Regions from separate parts of the Homo sapiens genome. Here all the other regions are linked to region 1. The links are contacts of gene promoters, found by promoter capture Hi-C in blood cells and fetal thymus (Javierre and others, 2016). All regions are on one chromosome and are shown on one strand. Each heading gives the region's core, a stretch centred on a gene start or on the middle of the fragment in contact. The rest is flanking DNA. Distances are from core to core; before and after follow the strand shown. Region 1 holds the start of FERD3L (Fer3 like bHLH transcription factor). Region 2 overlaps LOC105375180 (a long non-coding RNA gene). Region 3 overlaps LOC105375180 (a long non-coding RNA gene). Region 4 overlaps LOC105375180 (a long non-coding RNA gene). Region 5 overlaps HDAC9 (histone deacetylase 9). Region 6 overlaps LOC105375180 (a long non-coding RNA gene). Region 7 overlaps HDAC9 (histone deacetylase 9).

Region 1 (3,665 bases), core at 989-3,488:
AGGCAAGCAAGAAAGGTACATTGCCTTGGCTAAAATCATAAAGGAGTTCAGTCCAATGAAACTATCTCTTTAGTCTCATGAAGGCTTCTGACCCCCATTTTATGAAATTTTAAATTTAAATATCAACCATGTTTTCCTTCATTGTTTTCCAGTGTATTATATTGCGAAACTAGATTCTCAATTGACTGAGGTGTTTAATCCACTTGCAAATAGATTGTAAATGAATACAAAATAAGTCACTGAGAAGCATTTAACATAATTTAAAAATCAACAAGAAATTTGTCCAAATATTTAATAACATATTAATTTAAACGAGGGTTAGCAAGCATGTTACTACTTTTTTGAAACAAAAATCAGTTCTCCCATTTACTAGCTTCATAGCCACTGTTGACAATCCTATTATTTATTTTTCAGCCTTCCCTTTGAAAGATGCTTAGCAAAAATCAACTAAGTAACAACCAAAGATCTCATTCTCTTTAACATCTTCCAGGATCACAAATTTCAATTATTCTCTGCCTGAGTTATCACAATTCAAACTGGAGAATGAAGAGTAAACACAAGCAAAAGAAGATAAAATCTATTAAAAGATCGAGAGACACCAGACACAAATGGGTTAAAAGAAGAAGAAGAATTAAAGGTTATACTGTTTTGATTACACACATAGAGGCTAGGAAGAAGAAAATGAATTGAGATTACCTGTTAGAAATAGGCGGTTTCTGGTTTCTGGGAGCTGTCCAATGTACTGAGTGAACCATCATAACCACAACTTACCCCCTTAATAGGGACTGACGTCCTGGGCAGTTCTCTTTTGAACCGGGATGTTTCTACATTCATCTTTTTAGGCTATTTCTTCCAATCTACCTTTAAAATTATCTTCTAATCTGTCACTTTGACACAATGGGTCTTTTAAATAAATCTTTACACAGTACTGAATAATTAAGTAAATATAGTTATTGGCAAACAAAGAAAAAGAACCTTTTTGTTAAAATATTTGGGATACTCGAGATAATATAAAATGAGTAATCTCTTATTTTTCTTATGCCAAATTTAAAATCTCTTTCTTTTCTCAAAAATAACGATCTAACGATAGCCAAAAACTCCCTTAAATATATTTCAATAAATCATTGTTTCTGCACTTAAGTCTTACTGTAGGACAATACAAATCAATGAGGAAAATACGCCAGATGGAAGTGTTAGGTTTTTTTCTTTGTTCGGGAACAAATACTCGATCCGCAATTTAAAAGTCCGAAGACTCCTCAGCAGAGGGTGAGCTGATTGACTCTTTGGCTTATCAAGGGCAAATCGCATTTCTGAAAAGAGCTTGAAGTGGTTTTGTTTGTGAGGAGAGTTTGCTTTGTCCCCCACACTGAAAAGTATACAGCAAAGCCCGAGCATAGAAAATATCCTGAGCTTAAATTTCTCATTTTATTGCCATCATAACTTTTCCTCTTGGAATAAAATCCTCTATTTTATATGAGTAGGAGGTAAAGGTAGGGAAAGGAAAGTCAAGTATCTCAATTGTTACGCTGATTGCATCCAAACAGACTTTAGAAGTCAGGGTTTGTAACGTGGCAGGAGAGCTGTTTGCGATGCCCTGGAAAGAAAAGAAAGCCGGTTCCAACAGCGACTCTGGGGAATGCACTCTCGGTCCCCCTGCCATGCTTACTTAAGCTAATTGAAGGTCTTGCCTTTCAGCAGCCGCTGCACTGGGATACCAGACAAACAGCTCCCCTTGATGCCAGGCAGGCAGGGCCCCTCTTCAGGACATCATTAAAAGCACATGCACTTGCTCCACATCCATTGGCAGATGGTGGCAAGATTCAAGACTCCTACCCTGAAGTCAAGGAGAAGCCATCGCGGTGGAAAACATCCTCGCTTTGAAAATCCAACACGAAATTAAAGAACTACACGAGATAAGGAGCCTGGAGAACATTAGTTGGCTGCAGGGGTGAAGACAGACACAAAAAGCACAGCAGGTAAGAGCTGGGGGTTGTTGCCAACAAGGAACTGTCCCGGGTGGCGCAGAGAAAAGGATCTCAGAACTGGAGCCCTGTCCCTTTGAGTCTTCCATGCGTGCTCAAGCTTGTCATCTTCCATAAGCTTCGAGAGAAGGGACGTTGTCAGAGCATTCCTTATCGGTGCGACTAATCCTGTTATCAGCTTGGTTATAAATATTTAATGTTCCCTGGCCTTTCGGTGATGGTGCCCCATCAGATTCAAGGCTGTTAAGAATCCCCACCAGCAACCTCGCCCCTCCCTGCGGAAAACCGATGAGAGGCAGGGCCAAGCCGAAGCGATGGCGGCCTATCCGGAGAGCTGCGTGGACACTACGGTGCTGGACTTCGTCGCAGACCTGTCCCTGGCCTCCCCGAGACGCCCTCTCCTCTGCGACTTCGCACCCGGGGTCTCCTTGGGGGACCCAGCCCTTGCGCTCCGAGAGGGAAGACCCAGGAGGATGGCGCGGTTTGAAGAGGGGGACCCAGAAGAAGAGGAGTGCGAAGTGGACCAGGGGGACGGAGAAGAGGAGGAGGAAGAGGAGCGCGGAAGAGGTGTCTCCCTATTAGGCCGCCCCAAGAGGAAAAGGGTGATCACCTACGCCCAGCGCCAGGCCGCCAACATCCGCGAAAGGAAGCGGATGTTCAACCTCAACGAGGCCTTTGACCAGCTGCGGAGGAAGGTGCCCACGTTTGCTTACGAGAAAAGGCTGTCCCGGATCGAGACCCTCCGCCTGGCCATCGTCTATATCTCCTTCATGACCGAGCTCTTGGAGAGCTGTGAGAAGAAGGAAAGCGGCTGAGCCTGGTGTGGAGAGTCTGCCCTTCCTCGTCTGGTAGTGCTGGGGTGTGTCAGGACCGGGCACTGGGTGAGGCTAAAGGGCCGGGAGGGAGGCCCCAAGACAGAACGTCTGGTCTTCTGGAGGTCGGGGTCGAGATTGTAAGATCCCCACATGCGCTGAGCAGAGTGGCTGCTGTAGAGTTCATATCTACGCGACCGCCCTAAGTGAAGTCGGGGTCAGGGGCGAGCGGGGAAGTCAGAGAGCGTGAGGCTGAGTCGGGGCCGTTCAGGCTGCTCCTAAGAGCTTCCGTGGGCTGGGTGGGTGGGAAGTGAACCCTCCTCGCAAATGGCAGACTTTGGAGCTTCTATAAAATCTAACCTCTCTTCTTTACATTTTTTTTTTCATAGAGATAATAAAGTAGAAATTCTTACGTTTTTAAAAAGCCTGAAGGGTCGGTGGTACGCCATCCCCAGCAGGCGCTCCAGCGGGCGCCTGCGTGGAGGGTCTGAAGCAGACGCCGCAAGGGTGCGGGGGTGCGAGCTTTTCTGCTAGCCAGAGGGTTCTGCCTGGTCCTCCGAGGCTTGTCCAGGAACTGAGGAAAGGAAAAATGGAAGGCAGAGCAGTCGAGAGGAACTGCTGACAAAGTGCGACCTCTGAGAAGGGACACCCTTCCTGTCTTCCATTCCCTCTCCCTCCCGTCCCTTCCTCTCTCCCGCGCGCAAGCCCTCTCTCTTCCTTTCTCCCTCCCCTTCGCCACCTAGTTGATCCCAGACGGACCACAGCTCCTTGTCCCAGGGCCACAGTGGTGTTCATTCAGTGCCTTAGCCAGAGTGCAAATCTACGCTTTGCATCTAAAGTGCAGCATCAGCTTCCGTGTTCCAGTGCCTTC
Region 2 (3,619 bases), core at 901-3,400, 510 kb before region 1:
ACTCACTTGAAGGTCCATTGATCCTAAAAGACAAGTTTATTACCCAATCAGCAACAGTTATCAGGAGAAAGCTCCAAAAGCGAGCCCTGGGCCCTGAACAAAATCTGAAGGCATTATTAAACCTGGCAACCTTGGTGTTCTATAATACGGACCAAGAGGAACAGGCAGAAAAGGAAAAGCAAGATCAGAGAAAGGCTGCAGCCTTAGTCATGGCACTCAGACAAACAAACCTTGGTGGTTCAGAGAGAACAGTAAATGGAGCAGGCCGGTCACCTGGTAGGGCTTGTTATCAGTGTGGTTTGCAAGGACACTTTAAAAAAGATTGTCCAGTGAGAAACAAGCTGCCCCCTCGCCCATGTCCACTGACATGGCAAGGCAATCACTGGAAGGCGTACTGCCCCAGAGGTCAAAGTTTCTCCGGGCCTGAAGCCCCCAACCAGATGATCCAACAACAGGACTGAGGGTGCCTGGGGCAAGCGCCAACTCATGTCATCACCCTCACTGAGCCCCAGGTACATTTAACCTTTGAGGGCCAAGAAATTGACTTCCTCCTGGACATTGGCATGGCTTTCTCAGTGTTAATCTCCTGTCTCAGACAGCTATCCTCAAAGTCCGTTACCATCCGAGGAATCCTGGGACAGCCTGTGACCAGGTATTTCTCCCACCTCCTCAGTTGAAATTGGGAGACTTTGCTTTTTTCACATTCCTTTCTTGTTATGCCTGAAAGTCCCACACCCTTATTAGGGAGGGACATATTAGCCAAAGCTGAAGCTATTGTCTACGTGAATATGGGGAATAAGTTACCCATTTGTTGTTCCCTGCTTAAGGAGGGAATCAACCCTGAAGTCTGGGCATTGGAAGGACAATTCAGAAGGGCAATTCAGAAGGGCAAAAAATGCCTGCCCAGTCCAAATCAGGTTAAAAGACCCCACCACTTTTCCTTATCAAAGGCAATATCCCTTAAAGTCTGAAGCTCATAAAGGATTACAGGATATTGTTAGACATTTAAAAGCTCAAGGCTTAATAAGAAAATGCAGCAGTCCCAGCAACAAATTCTAGGAGTACAAAAACTGAACAGTCAGTGGAGACTAGCGCAAGATTTTAGACTCATCAATGAGGCAGTAATTCCTCTATATCCAGTTGTACCCAACCCCTATACCCTGCTCTCTCAAATACCAGAGGAAGCAGAATCGTTCACTGTTCTGGACCTCAAGGATGCCTTCTTCTGTATTCCCCTGCACTCTGACTCCCAGTTTCTCTTTGCCTTTGAGGATCCCACAGACCACAACTCCCAACTTACATGGATGGTCTTGCCCCAGGGGTTTAGGGATAGCCCTCATCTGTTTGGTCAGGCACAGGCCCAAGATCTAGTTCACTTCTCAAGTCCAGGCACTCTGGTTGTTCAGTATATGGATGATTTACTTTTGGCTACCAGTTCGGAAGCCTCATGCCAGCAGGCTACTCTAGATCTCTTAAACTTTCTAGCTAATCAAGGGTGCAAGGTGTCTAAATTGAAGGCCCAACTCTGCCTATAATAAGTCACATATCTAGGCCTAATCTTAGCCAGAGGAACCAGGGCCCTCAGCACGGAATGAATACAGCCTATACTGTCTTATCATTGCCCTAAGACATTAAAACAGTTTTGGGGGTTCCTTGGAATCACTGGCCTTTGCCAACTATAGATCCCCGGATACAGCGAGATAGCTAGGCCCCTTTATACTCTAATCAGGGAGACCCAGAGGGCAAATACTCATCTAGTAGAATGGGAACCACAGGCAAAACAGCCTTCAAAACCTAAAAGCAGGCTCTAGTACAAGCTCCAGACTTAAGCCTTCCCACAGGACAAAACTTCTCTTTATACATCACAAAGAGAGTGGGAATAGCTCTTGGAGTCCTTACTCAGACTCATGGGACAACCCCACAACCAGTGGCATACCTAAGTAAGGAAACTGATGTAGCAGCAAAAGGTTGGCCTCACTGTTTACAGGTAGTTGCGGCAGTGGCTATCTTAGTATCCGAGGCTATCAAAATAATACAAGGAAAGGATCTCACAGTCTGAACTATTCATGATGTAAATGGCATTCTAGGTGCCAAAGGAAGTTTACGGCTATCAGACAACTGCCTGCTCAGATACCAGGCACTACTCCTTGAGGGACTGGTGCTTCTAATACACATGTGTGGCCCTCAACCCTGCCACTTTTCTCCCAGAGGATTGAGAATGAATCGAGCATGACTGCCAACAAATTATAGTCCAGACTTATGCCCACTGAGAGAATCTCTTAGAAGTCCCCTTAGCTAATCCTGACCTTAACCTGTATGCCGATGGAAGTTTATTTGTGGAGAATGGGATATGAAAGGCAGGTTATGCCATAGTTAGTGATGTAACAGTACTTGAAAGTAAGCATCTTCCCCAGGGACCATCACCCAGTTAGCAGAACGAGTGGCACTTACCCGAGCCTTAGGACTGGGAAAGGGAAAAAGAATAAATGTGTATACAGATAGCAAGTATGCTTATCTAATCCTACATGACCATACTGCAATATGGAAAGAAAGGGAGTTCCTAACCTCTAGGGGAATCCCCATTAAATACCACAAGGAAATCATGGAGTTATTGCAAGCAGCACAAAAACCCAAGGAAGTGGCAGTCTTGCAATGCCGAAGCCATCAAAAATGGGAAGGAGAGGCAGGGAAAGACCAGCAGAGAGGAAAGAGACAGACAGAAAGTCAAAGAGAAAGAAAGAGGTGGTGGGGAGGAGGGAAAAGACAGTCAAAGAGAGCAGGAAAGAGAGAGAGAGGAAGAGACAGAGAGACAAAGAAGGAGTCAGAGAGAGAGGAAGAGACAGAGAGACAGAAAGAGAGACAGACAGAAAGGCAAAGAGAGAAGGAAAGAGAGAGAGAGAGATAAAAGTATAAAGAAAAAACTGTGTACCCTATTCCTTTAAAAGACAGGGTAAATTTAAAACCTATAATTGATAATTGAAGGTCTTATCCATAACCCTATAACACCCCAATACCACCTTGTCAGTGTAAACAGGGGCGTAGCCCGAAAGCACTGAGGTCACTCACAACCCATAGCCTTCCTACTAAAAATCCTTAACCCAGGAAGTTTCCTAACAGGGGATCTAAATCTTAATTAATTACCATACAAAGGTCCAACTAGACCTAGGAGGAACTCTCTTCAGGACAGGACAATAGATGTTTCCTCCCGGGCGATTAAGGGAAAAAGACACAGGGGATATTCAGTAAGTGATAAGGAAACTCTTGTAGAAGCAGTTAAGAAAAATGCCTAATAATTGGTCTGCTCAAATGTGTGAGCTGTTCGCACTCAGCCAAACCTGAAAGTATGTACAGAATCAGGAAGGAGCCATCTATACCAATTCTAAGTTAATATGGACTGAACGAGGTCTTATTAATAGCAAAGAATAATTGAAATCCCAAACTTCAAAGGTTTTCAACAAAAGTAAGTTTGCTACCAAAACCACTAAGGCCTAGACCTCCTCACTACTGAGAAAGGAGCACTTTGTGCCTTCTTAGGGGAACAGTGTTGTTTTTACACTAACCAGTCAAGGATAGTACGAGGTGCCACCCAGCGTTTACAGGAAAAGGCTTCTGAAATAAG
Region 3 (3,464 bases), core at 146-2,645, 490 kb before region 1:
CCCCACAACAGTCCCCAGAGTGTGATGTTCCCCTTCCTGTGTCCATGTATTCTCATTGTTCAATTCCACCTATGAGTGAGAATATGCAGTGTTTGGTTTTTTGTTCTTGCGATAGTTTACTGAGAATGATGATTTCCAATTTCATCCATGTCCCTACAAAGGACATGAACTCATCATTTTTTATGGCTGCATAGTATTCCATGGTGTATACGTGCCACATTTTCTTAATACAGTCTATCATTGTTGGACATTTGGGTTGGTTCCAAGTCTTTGCTATTGTGAATAATGCCACAATAAACATAAGTGTGCATGTGTCTTTATAGCAGCATGATTTATAGTCCTTTGGGTATATACCCAGTAATGGGATGGCTGGGTCAAATGGTATTTCTAGTTCTAGATCCCTGAGGAATCGCCACACTGACTTCCACAATGGTTGAACTAGTTTACAGTCCCACCAACAGTGTAAAAGTGTTCCTATTTCTCCACATCCTCTCCAGCACCTGTTGTTTCCTGACTTTTTAATGATTGCCATTCTAACTGGTGTGAGACGGTATCTCATTGTGGTTTTGGTTTGCATTTCTCTGATGGCCAGTGATGGTGAACATTTTTTCATGTGTTTTTTGGCTGCATAAATGTCTTCTTTTGAGAAGTGTCTGTTCATGTCCTTCGCCCACTTTTTGATGGGGTTGTTTGTTTTTTTCTTGTAAATTTGTTTGAGTTCATTGTAGATTCTGGATATTAGCCCTTTGTCAGATGAGTAGGTTGCGAAAATTTTCTCCCATTTTGTAGGTTGCCTGTTCACTCTGATGGTAGTTTCTTTTGCTGTGCAGAAGCTCTTTAGTTTAATTAGATCCCATTTGTCAATTTTGGCTTTGGTTGCCATTGCTTTTGTTGTTTTAGACATGAAGTCCTTGCCCATGCCTATGTCCTGAAAGGTAATGCCTAGGTTTTCTTCTAGGGTTTTTATGGTTTTAGGTCTAACGTTTAATTCTTTAATCCATCTTGAATTAATTTTTGTATAAGGTGTAAGGAAGGGATCCAGTTTCAGCTTTCTACATATGGCTAGCCAGTTTTCCCAGTAGCATTTATTAAATAGGGAATCCTTTCCCCATTGCTTGTTTTTCTCAGGTTTGTCAAAGATCAGATAGTTGTAGATATGCGGCGTTATTTCTGAGGGCTCTGTTCTGTTCCATTGATCTATATCTCTGTTTTGGTACCAGTACCATGCTGTTTTGGTTACTGTAGCCTTGTAGTATAGTTTGAAGTCAGGTAGTGTGATGCCTCCAGCTTTCTTCTTTTGGCTTAGTATTGACTTGGTGATGCGGGCTCTTTTTTGGTTCCGTATGAAATTTAAAGTAGTTTTTTCCAATTCTGTGAAGAAAGTCATTGGTATCTTGATGGGGATGGCATTGAATCTATAAATTACCTTGGCCTGTATGGCCGTTTTCACGATATAGATTCTTTCTACCCATAAGCATGGAATGTTCTTCCATTTCTTTGTATCCTCTTTTATTTCACTGAGCTGTGGTTTGTAATTCTCCTTGAAGAGGTTCTTTACGTCCCTTGTAAGTTGGATTCCTAGGTATTTTATTCTCTTTGAAGCAATTGCGAATGGGAGTTCACTTATGATTTGGCTGTCTGTTTGTCTGTTATTGGTGTATAAGAATGCTTGTGAGTTTTGTACATTGATTTTGTATCCTGAGACTTTGCTGAAGTTGCTTATCAGCTTAAGGAGATTTTGGGCTGAGAGAATGGGGTTTTCTAGATATACAATCATGTCATCTGCAAACAGGGACAATTTGACTTCCTCTTTTCCTAATTGAATACCCTTTATTTCCTTCTCCTGCCTAATTGCCCTGGCCAGAAATTCCAACACTATGTTGAATAGGAGTGGTGAGAGAGGGCATCCCTGTCTTGTGCCTGTTTTCAAGAAATAACTAACATCAGAGCAGAACTGAAGGAAATAGAGACACAAAGAAACCCTTCAAAAAATTAATGAATCCAGGAGCTGGTTTTTTGAAAGGATCAACAAAACTGACAGACTGCTAGCAAAACTAATAAAGAAGAAAATAGAGAAGAATCAAATAGATGCAATAAAAAATGATAAAGGGGATATCACCACCGATCCCACAGAAATACAAACTACCATCAGAGAATACTACAAACACCTCTACGCAAATAAACTAGAAAATCTAGAAGAAATGGATAAATTCCTTGACACATACACCCTCCCAAGACTAAACCAGGATGAAGTTGAATCTCTGAATAGACCAATAACAGGCTCTGAAATTGTGGCAAAAATCAATAGCTTACCAACCAAAAAGAGTCCAGGACCAGATGGATTCACAGCCGAATTCTACCAGAGGTATAAGGAGGAACTGGTACCATTCCTTCTGAAAATATTCCAATCAATAGAAAAAGAGGGAATCCTCCCTAACTCATTTTATGAGGCCAGCATCATCCTGATACCAAAGCCTGGCAGAGACACAACCAAAAAAGAGAATTTTAGACCAATATCCTTGATGAACATTGATGCAAAAATCCTCAATAAAATACTGGCAAACCGAAACCAACAAGAACAAAGACACAACATACCAGAATCTCTGGGACACATTCAAAGCAGTGTATAGAGGGAAATTTATAGCACTAAATGCCCACAAAAGAAAGCAGGAAAGATCCGAAATTGACACCCTAACATCACAATTAAAAGAACTAGAAAAGCAAGAACAAACACATTCAAAAGCTAGCAGAAGGCAAGAAATAACTAAAATCCCGAGTAGCTGGGATTACAGGCACATCCCATAATGCCCAGGTAATTTTTGTATTTTTGCTAGAGACAAGGTTTAGCCATGTTGCCCAGGCTTGTCACAAACTCCTGACCTCAGGTGATCCACCCACCTCAGCCTCCCAAAGTGCTGGGATTACAGGCATAAGGCACCACACGGGGCCAGAATCATCGTCTTTTTTATGGCTGAATAGTACTCCACTTTGTATAAGTACCATATACTCCTTATGCATTCATCTTTTGATGGGCACTTAGGTTGTTTCCAAATCTTAGCTATTGTGAACAAAGCTGCAACAAACATGGAGTGTAGATATTTCTTTGATATACTGATTTCCTTTTTTTTTGGGTATACACTGAGCAGTAGGATTTCTAGATTGTATGAAAGCCCTATTTTTAGTTTTTTGAGAAACCTCCAAACTGTTCTCCATAGTGGTTGTACTAATTTACCTTACTAACAACAGTGTATGAGGGTTCCCATTTCTCTACATCTTCTCTAGCATTTGTTATTGCTTGTGTTATAGATATAAGCCATTTTAACTGTGGCAAAATGATATCTCATTCTAGTTTTGATTTGCATTTGTCAGATGATCCGTGATGTTGAGCACCTTTTCATATGCATGAGTGTCATTTGTGTATCTTCTTTTGAGAAGCGTTTATTCAAAATCTTTTGCCCATTTTT
Region 4 (3,752 bases), core at 240-2,739, 440 kb before region 1:
CAGTAGCTATCTCCTTCTAACCTGGGTGGCAAGGAGAAAGCAATTCTTCCTCCCAATATGTCTAACAAGCTCCTCTCATAACTTCTTTCTTAGAAGAAAAAAAGTGGAAGAAAAATCATACTAAAAATAGGAATCATATTTCTATAAACATTAATGCTAGTGCAGGGTATAGAAAAACACCGATTTCACAGAAAGAATAGATGCATAATCACACATTAACAGCTAGCAGTTTTCAAAGCATATATTTGAAGGCTTCAATAGAAATCAGTTTATAAAATCTCAGTTCTTTGAGACAGATTAATTACATAAAGAAAACCTAACACTTAGGGCCCTGAAGCAGGAAGCCTAATATCTATCAGTAGGCAGGTTTAGATAAGAACCAAGGGAGGCACAGAAATGAACTACTTCCCTGCCCAATTTGGCTAAGCCTTCCTACCAATTCCATGCTGGAGAAATTAGAACTGATACAACATTATCCTTTTTAAAAAATAACTTACTGTGATTTAAATACAAAGTAAACTGAATATGGGGAATCACTTTCAACATACCCACTTGTCAATTTCTTCAAGTCCTAAATTTAAAAACTGCTATCAATTGCTGCATATAGGTTCCCAGACAGCATAGAACCTCCCTGATTATGAGAGTCAAGGTGCTGGTGCTGAGTTATGACAAATCTAGATATGCAGTTCCTTTAAACGCCTTTCTCAGAAGCGTACTTTTGTCTGGCTGTACTCGCAATGACATTGTTTTGTTGCAAAGAAAAACATATCTAACTCCTGAAAAAAGTGGGCAAATCATTTCATTTAGAGATACACCCTTAATAATAGAAAGAAAATAATCTAAACATAATAATAAGACAAAATAGAATGTTATTTATCATTATTACTACATCAAATTGCTTTTGGTCTGAAATTTGTCCTCTAATGAGTCTGGACTTTATAGTTCTGGTCTCATCTCATTTACTATTTCACAGCATCTATAGTCAAAACGCCAGGCACAGTGTACATGGACCCTTTCCTAGCATCTTACAAAGCTAAAAACAAGGTATCCATATGGCTGGAGTCTCATCTGGAATTTGGGGTACTCTGTCAGGTTTACTCAGGTTGTTGGAAGAAGTTTTCTGCAGTTGCAGGACTGAGGTTCCCTTCTTCTTGGTGGCTATTGGCCTGGGACCACACTCAGCCCCTAGAGGTCATCCTAAGTTCCTTGCCACATCCCTCAACCACAGTCTATTAACGACATGGTGGTTGCTCTTTCAAGGCCAACAAGGGAATATCTCTGTCTCTTTTAATCCTTCTGACTTATTTTAAGGGTTCACCTGATTAGATAGGGCCGGTCCAGGATAATCTTTCTCTCATAAACTCAATTTATGTGAGACTTTCATTATATCTGTAAAATCCCTTTACAGACCCACCTAGATTACTATTTAATTCAATAAATGAAAGAAAATGTGTATAACAGAGGGGTGGGGATATTGGGGCCATCTTAGAATTCTGCCTTCCACAATCATATGCTTAACTCAAAACTCATCATCATTATTGTCCCATGTATGACTATTTTATTGATTTACTTTTACATTTATTTAATACTATAATGAATAGCTACAAACCTCCTGTTCAACTCAAGAAGCAGAGCATAGTAATAATTACCAATGTTTACCAAAATGTACTTCCACATTCTATCTTCCTGATAAGCAATAGCTTTCTAAATTTCATTTATTATTCATAATACTTAACATTTTTACCAATATACATGTCCACATATTTCATTTCACTTATTCTGAACTTAAGATACACTGTAAGTATTCTGCTGGGACTTGCTTCATCCGTTGTGCTTGTATAATGTTATTACTTCCATCTCCTTGGTTGGTATAACTTCAGGGGTTTGATTAAAAAGCCTTTTGTACATCTTGTAGATAAGAAAACTAAGGTATAGAAAGCCCTTACAATATCATTTTGTATTGGTGGACTTTTATCACCAAAACTCACTGTCATTTCTACTGTTTAGTACATTTCAATGAAATCACCTACAGTATATTAAAAGATGTTTATTTGTACCATTATAAATAAAATTTGAAAACTTTATTAATGAACCAAATTATGCTAAAATCAGTAAAACTCTTCCCAATGTGTCACGATACAAATAACAAAACACAAAATTATCTTGTCAGAGTGGTTAGAATTTCTGCAGTACCCCTTTATAAATTATAGAAAAAGAAACATAATAAGTAAAACTCTGGATTTAAACTGACTTTTTCAAAAACCACACAAACCACTATCTGAAATTCTCAAATGATATTCCTGGCAATTACTGTGTATTTATTGAATAACAATGAATGGTTAGCATCCCATAACAGGCATAATATAAAATATTTGTAGAATGAAAAACTTCCTGTAATACATGTTGTTATTATTGGAAGGAGTAACTTTAGCAGGATAAGCAATGCTTTAAAACAGGAGTTATTGCCACTTGATAGAGATGGTATAGTGTAGTACAGCTAAAAGACAGAGTGGTGGGTAGTAAAAAAGTTAGTATTTCTTAAACTTTATGATCTATAAGGATAGGTTTCTTTATACAAGGTATTGGATGAAGGAGGAAAGAAGTTGACTATTTCCTTCAGCTAACTGTGTGTTTGGAAAGGGACCCCCCTTAGAGTCACGAGACCAGATGGTTATGCGATAGCTGCATTTATCAGGTCTATCAGCTACCTCCTTTTGCATCATCCATTCCTTGTGTTATTGCACAACCACCAGAGACATCAGTTATTAGAGAGTGGGTAGAGAGGAGTAAATATTTGGATGCAAAAAGGACAGATCAAGAACAAGATATGACTATATGAAATATAACTTTAGGAATATCCCTTGCTTCTGCCTCTCCAACCCCCAAATCTTTTATATGGTGTTCTGTGTCATTTTAACTGTGCACAGTCAAATGAAACTGAAATTTACTTTAGCAACAAAATGAACTTAACAGTCCTGAATCCTGCCTCCTGTCTGTCATTTTCCTCTTCCTTTTAACTAGTGTTGCCTATGACTATCTCCCAGACATTTGTGTAGTTCACTCATCTTAACTTGGTTGTCTCCTTAAACAATTAGGAGTCCATGAACTTTATTGTGAGAATGAATACTGACCTCTTACGAGCATTTCCTAATCCAGTGTGTCCTGTCCTGTCTTCCATAAATTGATTTTTTAGACTATTAGATATTGAGATAATTAGAAAAGCTTAGGCCAATTGGGATTACATATAAAGGCCATAAAACAAATAAATAAAATAGAGTTTAATGAACCAACTATAGACCACAAAATATAATTACAGCAGCAGCAGCAGAGATTTATAAAACCAAGAATGTCTTCTCTTGTTTAGTATACTTAGCTCTTACTGTACTTAGCAGGAAAATTTGCTAATTACAATAAGGTAATCTTAAAATGACAACGTATACTTTAAAATCTTAAGACACATTAGAATTCTAAGTAATCATGACAGAATTTAACTTGTTGAAAAGCCATTTAATTTACCAATAGTACTGGTACACAGGTGAATAAGGAATTCAATAAGTAGCAAATGAAATAGATCACTGATGGCCCCAATAATGAATATTTGGGGCTACAAGTCTCTATATCAGCATTGAGTGTTTTTGTTTTTGATCACATAGCAACTGTGCCCTGTCCACAAGATCATAGGCTCATGGAATTTTTTTCAGGACCTACTAATTTGTGCTAAAAATCTTATGAAAAATATCACCAGCTTTTAA
Region 5 (3,670 bases), core at 526-3,025, 460 kb after region 1:
ATATGTAAAAATATTTCTAAAATAATTGGTTGGAAAATGTCACTGGAATTGGAGTAAAGCAAATCATCTTTTGTAAATTTGCACATTATTCATAAAATTTGTATATAAATATACTAGAAATGGAACCTTCATCATTTAGAAGTTTAGAAATGCATTCCCGGTGTCAGCAGTCAAACTAAGGCTAGACTAAACAGACTGAGCTTTATAAAACAGCATTTTTCCTCCATCATTTCTTGCTCTCTGAGAATATTATTCTTTATGATATTGCTTTTGAAATCCTATTTTTTATTCCACTTGTTGAAAACTAAAAGAGTAATGGAGTAGAACAAACTGATGTATAGAAAAATAGTATTCTAAATAATACACACACATATAGACATAGCTCATATATAAGTGTGTGTGTGTATATATAGTCATTTTGCTCAATTTTCAGGTTATATGGGCTGTTTGTGGAGTTTCCATGTTTTCAGTTAGCTTATAAATGGAAATCTGATAGCTACCTCACTCCTTCACACATTACATTAGGGAAAAATTCTATAAAGTAAAAAGTTATCTAGCCAGAGTTTATACCAGATACTGTGGAAAATTTATTGGGTAAAGACTAAAACAATCTTTATTATAAGAGACCACACCTCAATATACAATGAAGAAAAATGTTTCCCTTGTGAAAAAACATAATAAAATATGTCCATCTAACTAGTCATGAATCCCTGCAGAAATACACAGCTTTCCCTCTTCTTCCCTTTCTGAATTCCTATTCATTTTGAGTCAGGATAGCCTAGTCCATTAATTAACCTTCAGGTCTTTGAGGTCACCTCCTTGGATCTGTTCTCGATATGTTGAAATAATTTATTCCATAGTGAATATCAAAGATACCTGAATATTGCCAAAATAATGATGTCCTGCATCTACTACTATACCCGGAGATGTGAAAAATAAAAGAATGCAAAATTCACTGAAGGACTTTTGAAAAGTATAGATGTTATTTATCCCAATATAGACATTTATTTCCCATCAATGAGGGTTCTATGATAGTATCAATTATAACATAAAAATATTGTTGTAAATTATATCATACACCTTTGAATATCTGTTATTTCAAGAAGAGTAAACTAGTTTGTGGTTTTGCAAGCAAATACACATAAAGGGATCTGGCATGGCCAGTGCATTGAGTAGAAGATTTATTTAAATGGTACCTACTTAAATCGGTTGTACTATTTACTAGCTTATGTTACATATTGAACAGCTTATTGCCTATGCTGGAAAATGTGTTGCCCTAGGAAATGTGTATATACAGAAATAACATTAAGAAGCTACACTAAGAATTTTGATAGGATTAGAAAGCATAAATGTTTATTAACTATTTATATTTATGTAAAGCACATGGTACTTGGAAAATTCAGACTTTAAACAATTATAAAAATATGAACTCTCAAAGCATACTGTATCTGTTCCTATCATGTAGTACCTAACATCTTTTATCTAATAATTTTATATATGTATAATTTACCCTCTTCTTATCAGGTTATAAGCTTATTGGAGCCAGGCGGGACCATGTCCAATATTTAAAATAATGCCTTGCACATTCTGATGTGTGATAAGCAATTAAAGAAATGAAGGTTTATGTTAGATTAGTTGAATTATTTTATGAGGATTTTTACATATGAAGGTGAGAGGATTCCAACCATTCTTTTAAACATAGTGTTTTACTATAACTATGTACGGAGAAGAGGAAAAAGTTTTGTATAAATGTTGACAGAGTTAAAATTTCAGAATCCACCAGGTAGGTTAAAGAGACTTCAGCCATTTGTGAAGAATTTATGCCAGGCTATATATCTAAATTCGTGTTTCTCTAGATATTCTAAGAGGTGAAGGGAATGAATATATATTTAGACTTTAAAACATTAATACATAAGGCAAATTCCACATCAAGTATGTAATATAAGAATGGAAGAGTTGGGGATTTCATAAATGACATTTGTAGTCTTCCAAGCCATGACCACAAGATGTAAGCTTTATGAACTAGAGATGAATAGAAGAATTAAAAATGCTAAGACATGTGTTTAGTATGAAGGAAAAAAGCAGGGCCACAACTGTGAAGCCATCCATACAGTGACTTCCTGACTGATAGGAGTTTTTCACATTCCATCTTTGCCTTTGCTTTCTACAAGTGCTGGAACATTACCATGAAAATAATTGGAGGGAGTAAAGAAGACTTGGTTGAAAAGTTAGCATAGTAGCAAATGGCTTTTCTGATTTGATGTTGAAAGTACTGTATTTTGAAGTTACATTGAATAGTTTATGAGTCAGACCTGAGTGTCTGTTACTGTATCACCACAAATTGACTGAGACTCCAAGCCAGCCTCTCAACCTTTCTGGATATGGATCAGGGATGGAATCTGAGCTCTATCATAGTTCAGATGTATGACTTCTGCTTTACCACACTGAAGTCTTCATTTTTTCTTTGGTAAATATGAAATGGTGATTAAATGATAAACATAAATTACTGGGTATGGTGTTTGGCAATTAATTAGCTTTCAATCCCTACTACCTTTCATTGTTGTTATTGTTGTCATTATCTAACATTCCTACCAACAATAAAATTTTGCCATTCTACACTATTTTTAATAGTGTTTAAACTTTAAATACTGGCACACGCTATTTCTGCATATATTTTATGACTAATTTAGTTAGGTTATTTTCATTCCTGAGGAATATCAAAAACTCTGTCGCATAGAATGTTTCTTCCATCTCACCCCACCCCCCTTAGGAGGAAATCTATTTGCCAATTCTAGTTCAAAAATAGTAAATCAGCATTCACTTGACATTTTCTTAAACACTGAACAAATCTTTTTTCTACTAGTTAGAATTTTAAAGGAAATTATATGAACATAAAAGAAAAATAATTTTTAAAACTAAGATGGTCATTCAATATTGGTCTGTCTTCCTGATAACTGTCAAGAAAGCTGTGGCTATATGTCATCTTTACATGTCAGCATGGGTGAGCAAACCATAGTCTTTCGATGAAGATCAGGATTAACACTTTCAATTAACAAATGAGGAAACTGAGGCATAGAACACCTAGAAATTGTATAGCTGGCCAAGAACAAAAAAAAAACTGGCTCTTCAGATCTTTGCTTCTCCATCACATAGGCCAGACTGGTTGGGTAAGCTGCTTCCCATGGGTAAGTGGAAAAGGGAGTGATATAGTTAGAACACACAATGGATGGTATAGCACAGTGCATAATGACACTTCATTTTATGAGCTTTCCAGCAAAACACCAGTAGATTCCATAGCTAGAGAACTGCTGTTTGACAGTCTTTTTTTATTTCAGTGTACTCCAACTAACCTTTCTAGAGGTTGTGGTAAGCCACAGTGAGGGTGGAGGACAGTTTCTCTCCATAAATTATCTTCAAAGAGAGATTCAGACGAATTTTATTTAACAACAAAAAAGTGGGAGGACCTTGAGGAGGAAAAGTAACAAGGAAAAGAAAACCACATAAAACTGAATAGAGAGGATCATGTTACAGAAGAAACCATTTTCCTTCAAATTTCAAATGTTTAAAATCAAGAGAAATGATGTGATAAAAAACTAGAAGATTGGCTTTAGAACATAACTTAGGTGGAGGGGAGTTTTCCATGACACCATTAGGAAAAGTGTGCAAAGAA
Region 6 (3,885 bases), core at 360-2,859, 460 kb before region 1:
AGGCATTATATGGCACAATCCTAGAGCCAGAAAGACATTATAACATGTTACAGAAACGTAAGAAAGGGGGAGAGGGAGGAAAAGAGGAAGAAGGAACAGAGGGAGGAAGGTAAGGAAGGTCAGGAGGGAGGAAGGAAAGAAAAAAGGAAGGAGGAAGGATACAAGCAAGCAAGCTGGCTGCTGCTACTAATATTATATATACAGTATAATATAAAAATATATATTAGAGAACCCATATATTATGATTCAGATAATTAAAAGTTAGAACAATAGACTGATAATCATAAAGATTTCCAAGCTGTATGTATTCCATAAATTTAGAAAATACAGGGAAAATGAGAGAGGTGTGCTCTAGGGAATTATAGGAAAGTAAAGGTAGATAATCTGTACTGTAATGAGGTACGACAGCAAGTTTCTATGATGTTCCCCTTCCTGTGTCCATGCACATGTACCCTAAAACTTAAAGTATAATAATAATAAAAAAAAGAAAGTTTCTATGGAGGCAGTGTTCTAGTCATTCTAGTCACTTTGACGTTGATAAGCAGTATATTTGTAATACTGTGTAGAGGCTGGTGCGTCATATAAACCAAATATAAATGGACACATTTCAAAGTGCTACATGGATTATTTCTAACACAACTGTTCAACTGTAGTTTTGTTTCTCATTATATGAGAAATATATCTTTGACCATAGGATTTGTTCCAATAGGCTTACCTAGGGTTAGCTGCAATTCTCTGATGGCTGGTGAGCTCCTGTTCATTCCTTTTTATCCAACAAGCTAGATAGGAAAGCAACCAATGAAGAATAATATTATTATGGAAATTATCTTATATTTGCTTCTCTTTTTTGTGAAGAGATACATATCATATTCCTTTATTTAATTTTAAGCCCTCTTTTAGTTTTGTTCCCCACCATTTCTTTTTTTCTCTAATTTTTTATATTGTGGTAAAATATACATAATATAAAATTTACCATCTTAATCACTCGTAAGTGTACAGTTCAGTGATATTAAATACATCCATATCGTTGTATAGCCATCACCACCATCCAACTCCACAACACTTTTCATCTTGTAAAACTGAAACTCTATACCTATCAAATAATAAGTCTCCATTTCTCCCTCTTCCTCATCCCTGACAATCACTATTCTACTTTCTATGTCTATGATTTTGACAACTCCAGGTAATTCATATAAGTGGACTCATACAATATTTGCTTTTTTGTGACTTGCTTATTTCACTGCCATAATGTCCTCAAGGTTCATTCATATTATGGCAGATTGCAGAAGTTACTTTTTTAAAGGCTGAATAACATTTCATTGTATGGATATACCACATTTGTTTACTCTTTCATCCACTGAAGGACACTAGGGTTGTTTCCACATTTTTGCAATTGTGAGTTATGCTACTATGAATATGGATATGCAAATGTATTTTCAAGACCCTGCTTTCAATTCTTTTAGGTATATACACAGAAGTGAAGATGCTGGATCATATGGTAATTCTATTCATAATTTTTTGAAGAACCACTCACTATACTGTTTTTCACAGCAACTACACTATTTTCCATTCCAACCAGCACTACACAAGTGTACGAATTTCTCCACATCCTCATCAACACTTATTTTTACTATTTTTTATAGTAGCCATTGTAGTCTGTGTGAGGTGGTATCTCAATGCAGTTTTGATTTGCATTTCCCTAATGATTAGTGATTTTGAGCATCTTTTTATGTGCTTATAGGCCATGTGCATATCTTCTTCGGAGAGATGTGTACCCAAGTACTTTGCCCATTTTTGCATTTTGTTATTGTTGTTGTTGTTATTGAATGTTAGGAGTTCTCTACATATTCTGGATATTAATTCTTTAGATGTATGATTTACAAATATTTTCTTTCATTCTGTGGGTTTTCTTTTTACTCTGTTGATAGTGTCTTTCGAGGCACAAATTATTTTTTTAGGAAGTTTAATTTGTGTATTTTTTCTTTTGTTGCCTGTGCCTTTGGTCTCATATCCAAGAAATCATTGCCAAATCCAATGCTGTAAAGCCTGTGCTCTATGTTTTCTTCTAACAGTTTTATTTCTTTTAGTCTTATATTTATGTTTTTGATCCATTTAATTTTTGTATATGTTGTTATATAAAGTTCCAACTTTATTCCTTTGCTTGTTAATATCCAGTTTTCTCAGCACCATTTATTGAAAACTGTCCTTTACCCAGTGGATGCTCTTGACAGTCATGTCAAAAATCATTTGACAATATATGTGAGGGTTTATTTGTGGGCTCTCCATTTCACTAGTCTGTATTTGTACCTACACCATACTGTGTTGATTACCATAGCTTTGCAGTAAGTTCTGAAATCAGAAAGTGTGAGTTCTCCAGCTTTGTTCTTTTTTTCAAGACTATTTTGGCTACCCAGTTTCCTTTGAAATTTCATATACATGTTAAGATGAGTTTTTCTATTTTTACAAATAAACATTATTGGGAATTTATTACTGTATTGAATCTATAGATTTCTTTGGGTAGTATTGATATCTTAACACTATTAAGCCTTCCAATCTATGGTCATGGGATGTTTTCATTTTTTTATGTCAACAATTTCTTTTACCAATGTTTTCTAGTTTTCATTGTACACGTCTTTCACCTACTTGGTTAGATTAATCCCTAAATATTTTATTCTTTCTGAAATGATTGTAAATTGAATTATTTTATAATTTCCTTTTCATATTAGTTATGTTAGTGTATATTAATGCACCTAGTTTTTGCATGTTAACTTTTTGTCCTGCTATTTTGCTGAATTCATTTATCATTTATAACAGTTTTTGATTACTGAACTTATATTAATTCAATCTTCTTACTCGCTATAGAAGTTTATTCAGGTATTTTATTTCTTGATGATTTAGTTTTACAGGTTTTATGTTTCTAAAAATTTGTCCATTTCATCTAGGTTATCCAATTTTTTGACAAGCAATTGTTCATAGAACTCTCCTAGAATCATTTATTGTGCTGTAGAATCAGTAGTAACATCTGCACTTTTATTTCTAATTTTAGTAATTTGAGTCCTCTTAACTCTTTTTCTTAGTCTAGCTAGTTAAAGGCTTGTCGACTCTATTCATCTTTTCAAAGAACCACCTTTTGGCTTTAGTGATTCTATTTTTTCTATTATTTATTTCATTTATCTATGTTCTACTTTTTATTATTTCTTACTTCTGCTAGCTCTGGGCTTAGTTTGTTCTCTTTTTCTAGTTCCTTAAGGTGTAAAGTTAAATTGTTGACTTAGGATCTTTCTTGTTTTTTTAATGTAAGTATTTATAAATTTCTCCATTAGTACTGCTTTCACTAAGTCCTATTAAGTTTTGGTATGTTGTGTTTTAATTCATCTTTAACTATTTCCTTATGTGCCTTATGGTTTTTCTTTGATCCATTGGTTGCTTAAGAGTTTGCTGTTTTATTTTCACAATTTGTAAAGTTTCCAGTTTTACTTCTGTTTTTGACTTCTAGGTTTATCTTATTGTGGTCAGAGAAGATACTTTGTATGACAGGTATTTTGAAATATACTGTGACTTAACTTTTGGCCTGGAGAATGTCCCCTCTGCACTTGAAAAGAATGTGTATGATGTTGTTAAAGAGAGTGTTCTGCATATGTCTTTTACATCTAGTTGGTTTATTGTGCTGTTTAAGTTCTATATTTCCACATTTTCCTTTAGTTCTTTGAACCTCTTGAAGACAGTTGTTTTAAAATTTATGTAAGTTAGTTCTGTCATTGGGTGCTTTTGAATGACAGTTTCTGCTGATTTATTCATTTCCTTTGAATAAGTATTACTTTCCTGAATTTTTATATGCCTTATGATTGTTTGGTTGAAAATGGGATATTTGAATCTAATAATGTG
Region 7 (3,460 bases), core at 709-3,208, 430 kb after region 1:
GCCACAGAGCAGGTGCAGGTCAGCATGGCTATTCATAAGGGTGAATAGCCCTTATTCGTAAGACTCCATAAGACTGCTGGTTATGGAGATTCTGGGGAATGAATAGAATTGTGGAGGCCATGCAGTACTTGCACCCTATCTAAGGAGGCTGACTCTCAAGCCTAACAGCAACAGCAAGTCAGCAAATAGCTTTAGATTCCAGGAGTTTGGGCCTGAGGATTGAATTAGTTTAACAGGGTTGATAAGAACAAATTTGCATTAGAAATGATTATTCCAGCAGAAAAATAACCTATGTTTTGCGTAGAGTAGGCAACTTAATCTTCACACACCTTGCTACGCAAATTAAATGACGTTATTAAAAAGTGCACAGGATTCAGAAAAAAACAAACTCCTTGGTTTGTACTCCAGCTCTACCACTTTACAAAGATGCAAATTAGGAAAACTTTATTTGAACTCTCAGAGCACATCTATAAAATAAAGAAATGACAGTGTATTTGATAAGCACTTTTTCTTCCAGAATAAGTGGTTTATCTGCAAAAAAGACTAATCTAATTAGCATTGTTATTTAAACGTTCATAGTATCAGGTATTTCTCCAAATAGGATAAGGAAATTGATCATTAATATATCATTGTTATCAACGACTTATTTTTTAAAACTCAAATTGACTCTATTACCAAAATACGTTATAACAAGGTGTTATTGAGCCAAACTTCTGCCTTCTTTCTGATATCCATCACCAATGCCACAGTCATCAGTTATGACTAGTCACAACTAGATATTGTTTAACAGTCTTTAACCACTTCATTAACCATCTACTATGGTGCTTCTCAGCCTCCATGATCATTTAGCTCCTTATGCAGAATTATGCACATGTTGATTTTTCTTACATATATTTTTATTATAATTTACTAATATTTTTATATTAATAAATCTTCTTGCATAAATGCCCTACATCCTTATGAGGATGACAAGACAAATCTTTCTAAATCTGTTGTGATGGCTCCATTCTTTTGAAAAATTAATTGTAATTGATAAATAAGAGTGGTATATATTCATGGTGTTAAACATGATGTTTGATCTGTGTATACATTGCGGAATAGCTAAATCAATCTAATTAACATATATGTTACCTCACGTACTTAATTATTTTGTGTCTCTGTTCTTACATATCTTCTAACAATTGGTTTTTGAGATAGTCCCTGTATTTAGTCTCATGGGTCAATAATTTTTATCAACTCATCTGCAATGCTCATCACCAAACTATTATCCTAACAACACTGTTTAATAATTTGGCCTATAGCAACCAAAGGTATGCAGATTCTGCTAAGTGGTCTCATTAGTTGTCATAAATTGTCACATCTATCAACAGTCAAATTTTTTTTTTATGACACTCATTTCTCACAATTATTTTTAGTGGTCACTGCCCACAAAATAGACTTTTCTGTTCTGCTATACAACTTGCATTGCTTTTGCGTCAAGTTATGTTAACTTCAGTTACCTGATTTTAACTATGCTCATCAAACGGAACAAAGAACAAATGGATAATATAATATGATTAGACAAGGCTTAACAATTTGGTTTAAGACCTTGTCTGGTATTATTTGGTTTTAGTGCTACAGATTCAGCTCTAAATAGAATCAATAGAAACAAAGTAAATCTCACTAAAATAGTTCCTGGCTTACATGAATAAACTCTTGCATATAAAAGTTATTTCATCTCCTTGAAAGACATAAAATAATATTATTATGCACATTTATGCACATGCTATTATAATTTGTAAAGTATCAAACATTGCTATTCAAAATTATACTTGTAGGCTCAATAAGCAATATAAATAATATGTTAAAGTGGTTATATTCAATTATTGGCAAGCTTAACTTTATTTGATTTATAACATGTCAATGAACCTGCAATACCTAGGATTTACTGGCATTGTTTATCCTCTGCTTGGTTCTTCAGCAGAGTCATCATCATAATATTTGTTCACAACTTGAGTAAAGGCTAAAACAGTTCTCATCATTCTTAGATGTTAACTAAGCTTGTTATTGCTTATACCTGCAGATTTAAAATCATGCTTTTAGTTATTAGTAGCTATTTATAAATTGACACTGAAACAGGAATTATTGTAAACTTGCAGAATAAGTGACTATGGCATTCTACAATAGCTCTATGCACTGCTGTTTGTTTATCATGCAATAGTCCCACATGCTAGAGCCCATCCCTTCTCTAGAACATGGAGTTTGAAGCAAGGTTGGTAGAGAAGGTTGTTGCCGCTGATGAAAGAGAAAAAACTGAAAGCAGTTAATGAAAAATTTGTCAACATCTTTAGGGATTTTAACTTAATCAGAAAACAATGAGAAGTCGCTGATGTATATTAAAGAATGAAAAAATGTGATTATATTTAAATTTAAGGAAGACTTAAAGTACCCCTATTTATTTAAATTGGAATTCAAAGACTGGCTATGGGCAAACCTGATGAGCCATGACCAGTGCACTACTAAGGGGTTTACTACACATCCTTCATCCTGCACACTGGCCCACTACATCCACTGGGCATTTGCATTGATTGATATGAGTTTGATTTATCTTTGTTTGGTTGACTGTTTTCCCGAAGGAAAAAAAAAAAAAAAGAAGTATGGTGAGAAATGAGAGAAGAGATGGGAAAAGACAGGGAATGGACAGCCCCGAACAAAGTGTGTTCTCTGTTGAGCCTGGTGAATGGCTATTTGAGCTCCAAGAGAAAAGGCCTTCAGGAAGAAGTAGAAAGAACTGTGTCATATGAGATTTATAGCACAAGTGCTGTTCTTTTGTGGCAAAATGAAACAGTTTGGAAGACAGCGTTCCTCTCATTTGTGACAAAAAAGTCATTGAGGGCTAAAAGGAATGAAGAGTCACTTTGCACTCTGAGGATTGTAAAGTTTTGAGAACTGTGAAGCAGCAACCCCAAGTGTGGGCAGGGGTGGTGGGTGTGGCAGACCACAGCTGGTATTGGTGGCTCTCAACTGAGCACAGACTCATTCCTCAACACGTGCAAGACTCCCTCGAGGAAGACCCGGAAGTACCTGAGAGACACTGATTATGGTGTTAGGACTATTGTGACAGCAGGAGGTTAGTAATCAAAACTAATATGAGCTTATTTGTAAACACTAGTCAACCACTTGGGTTATTAAACTCCAGTAGTCAGACTACCAGAGACTTTACATTAACTCAGTTGACAGCAGCCGGAACCAGAGTTGCAGCAGTGGGTTGGAGAGAGGAAGGTGGACCCCTGAGATATTTAGAAGGTGGAATCAATATGATTTGTTGAATTGAGATGTTCTCTCTACTTTGGGGCAATGAGGAGCAATGACGATGACAGATAAGTTACTTAATTCCTTAAAGCCTCAGTTGCCCCATCTTTTGAATTTGTAAATTTTCAATAACAGTAGTATCTACTGCATAGAGATTGTTGTCGAAATT

The links. The method cuts DNA at HindIII sites, captures the fragments that hold promoters and counts their contacts. A CHiCAGO score of 5 or more calls a contact.
Region 2: a fragment that was not itself captured here is called in contact with the fragment with the promoter of FERD3L in region 1 in 3 of 17 cell types (M0 macrophages, M1 macrophages and megakaryocytes); the score reaches 6.6 in M0 macrophages.
Region 3: a fragment that was not itself captured here is called in contact with the fragment with the promoter of FERD3L in region 1 in 2 of 17 cell types (megakaryocytes and M0 macrophages); the score reaches 6.3 in megakaryocytes.
Region 4: a contact is called between a fragment that was not itself captured here and the fragment with the promoter of FERD3L in region 1, in 1 of 17 cell types (M1 macrophages). The highest score is 6.5, in M1 macrophages.
Region 5: a fragment that was not itself captured here is called in contact with the fragment with the promoter of FERD3L in region 1 in 1 of 17 cell types (M1 macrophages); the score reaches 5.4 in M1 macrophages.
Region 6: a fragment that was not itself captured here is called in contact with the fragment with the promoter of FERD3L in region 1 in 2 of 17 cell types (M2 macrophages and M0 macrophages); the score reaches 5.6 in M2 macrophages.
Region 7: a fragment that was not itself captured here is called in contact with the fragment with the promoter of FERD3L in region 1 in 1 of 17 cell types (M1 macrophages); the score reaches 5.4 in M1 macrophages.

What each region holds. Positions count from the first base shown.
Region 1 is chr7:19,143,994-19,147,658 of GRCh38, reverse strand. FERD3L (Fer3 like bHLH transcription factor) reads left to right here and starts at 2,238. Exons shown (of 1, transcript NM_152898.2): 1 at 2,238-2,877. The coding sequence starts at 2,297. The coding sequence ends at 2,797. RefSeq lists enhancers at 1,192-1,840, 2,306-3,505. The HindIII fragment of the contact is 4,985 bases long and covers 2,103-3,665 here.
Region 2 is chr7:19,654,711-19,658,329 of GRCh38, reverse strand. All of the region lies in intron 4 of LOC105375180 (a long non-coding RNA gene), which reads right to left. Among named protein-coding and RNA genes, the nearest start is that of MIR3146, 49 kb to the left of the region's middle. The HindIII fragment of the contact is 5,700 bases long and covers 1-3,619 here.
Region 3 is chr7:19,634,090-19,637,553 of GRCh38, reverse strand. The region is part of intron 4 of LOC105375180 (a long non-coding RNA gene); the gene reads right to left. Among named protein-coding and RNA genes, the nearest start is that of MIR3146, 70 kb to the left of the region's middle. The HindIII fragment of the contact is 4,454 bases long and covers 1-3,464 here.
Region 4 is chr7:19,584,945-19,588,696 of GRCh38, reverse strand. The region is part of intron 2 of LOC105375180 (a long non-coding RNA gene); the gene reads right to left. Among named protein-coding and RNA genes, the nearest start is that of MIR3146, 120 kb to the left of the region's middle. The HindIII fragment of the contact is 3,470 bases long and covers 1-3,224 here.
Region 5 is chr7:18,684,810-18,688,479 of GRCh38, reverse strand. The region is part of intron 12 of HDAC9 (histone deacetylase 9); the gene reads right to left. Among named protein-coding and RNA genes, the nearest start is that of HDAC9, 190 kb to the right of the region's middle. The HindIII fragment of the contact is 481 bases long and covers 1,535-2,015 here.
Region 6 is chr7:19,606,153-19,610,037 of GRCh38, reverse strand. LOC105375180 (a long non-coding RNA gene) reads right to left here. Exons shown (of 5, transcript XR_007060245.1): 4 at 716-779. Among named protein-coding and RNA genes, the nearest start is that of MIR3146, 97 kb to the left of the region's middle. The HindIII fragment of the contact is 5,642 bases long and covers 1-3,885 here.
Region 7 is chr7:18,711,104-18,714,563 of GRCh38, reverse strand. All of the region lies in intron 12 of HDAC9 (histone deacetylase 9), which reads right to left. Among named protein-coding and RNA genes, the nearest start is that of HDAC9-AS1, 190 kb to the left of the region's middle. The HindIII fragment of the contact is 166 bases long and covers 1,876-2,041 here.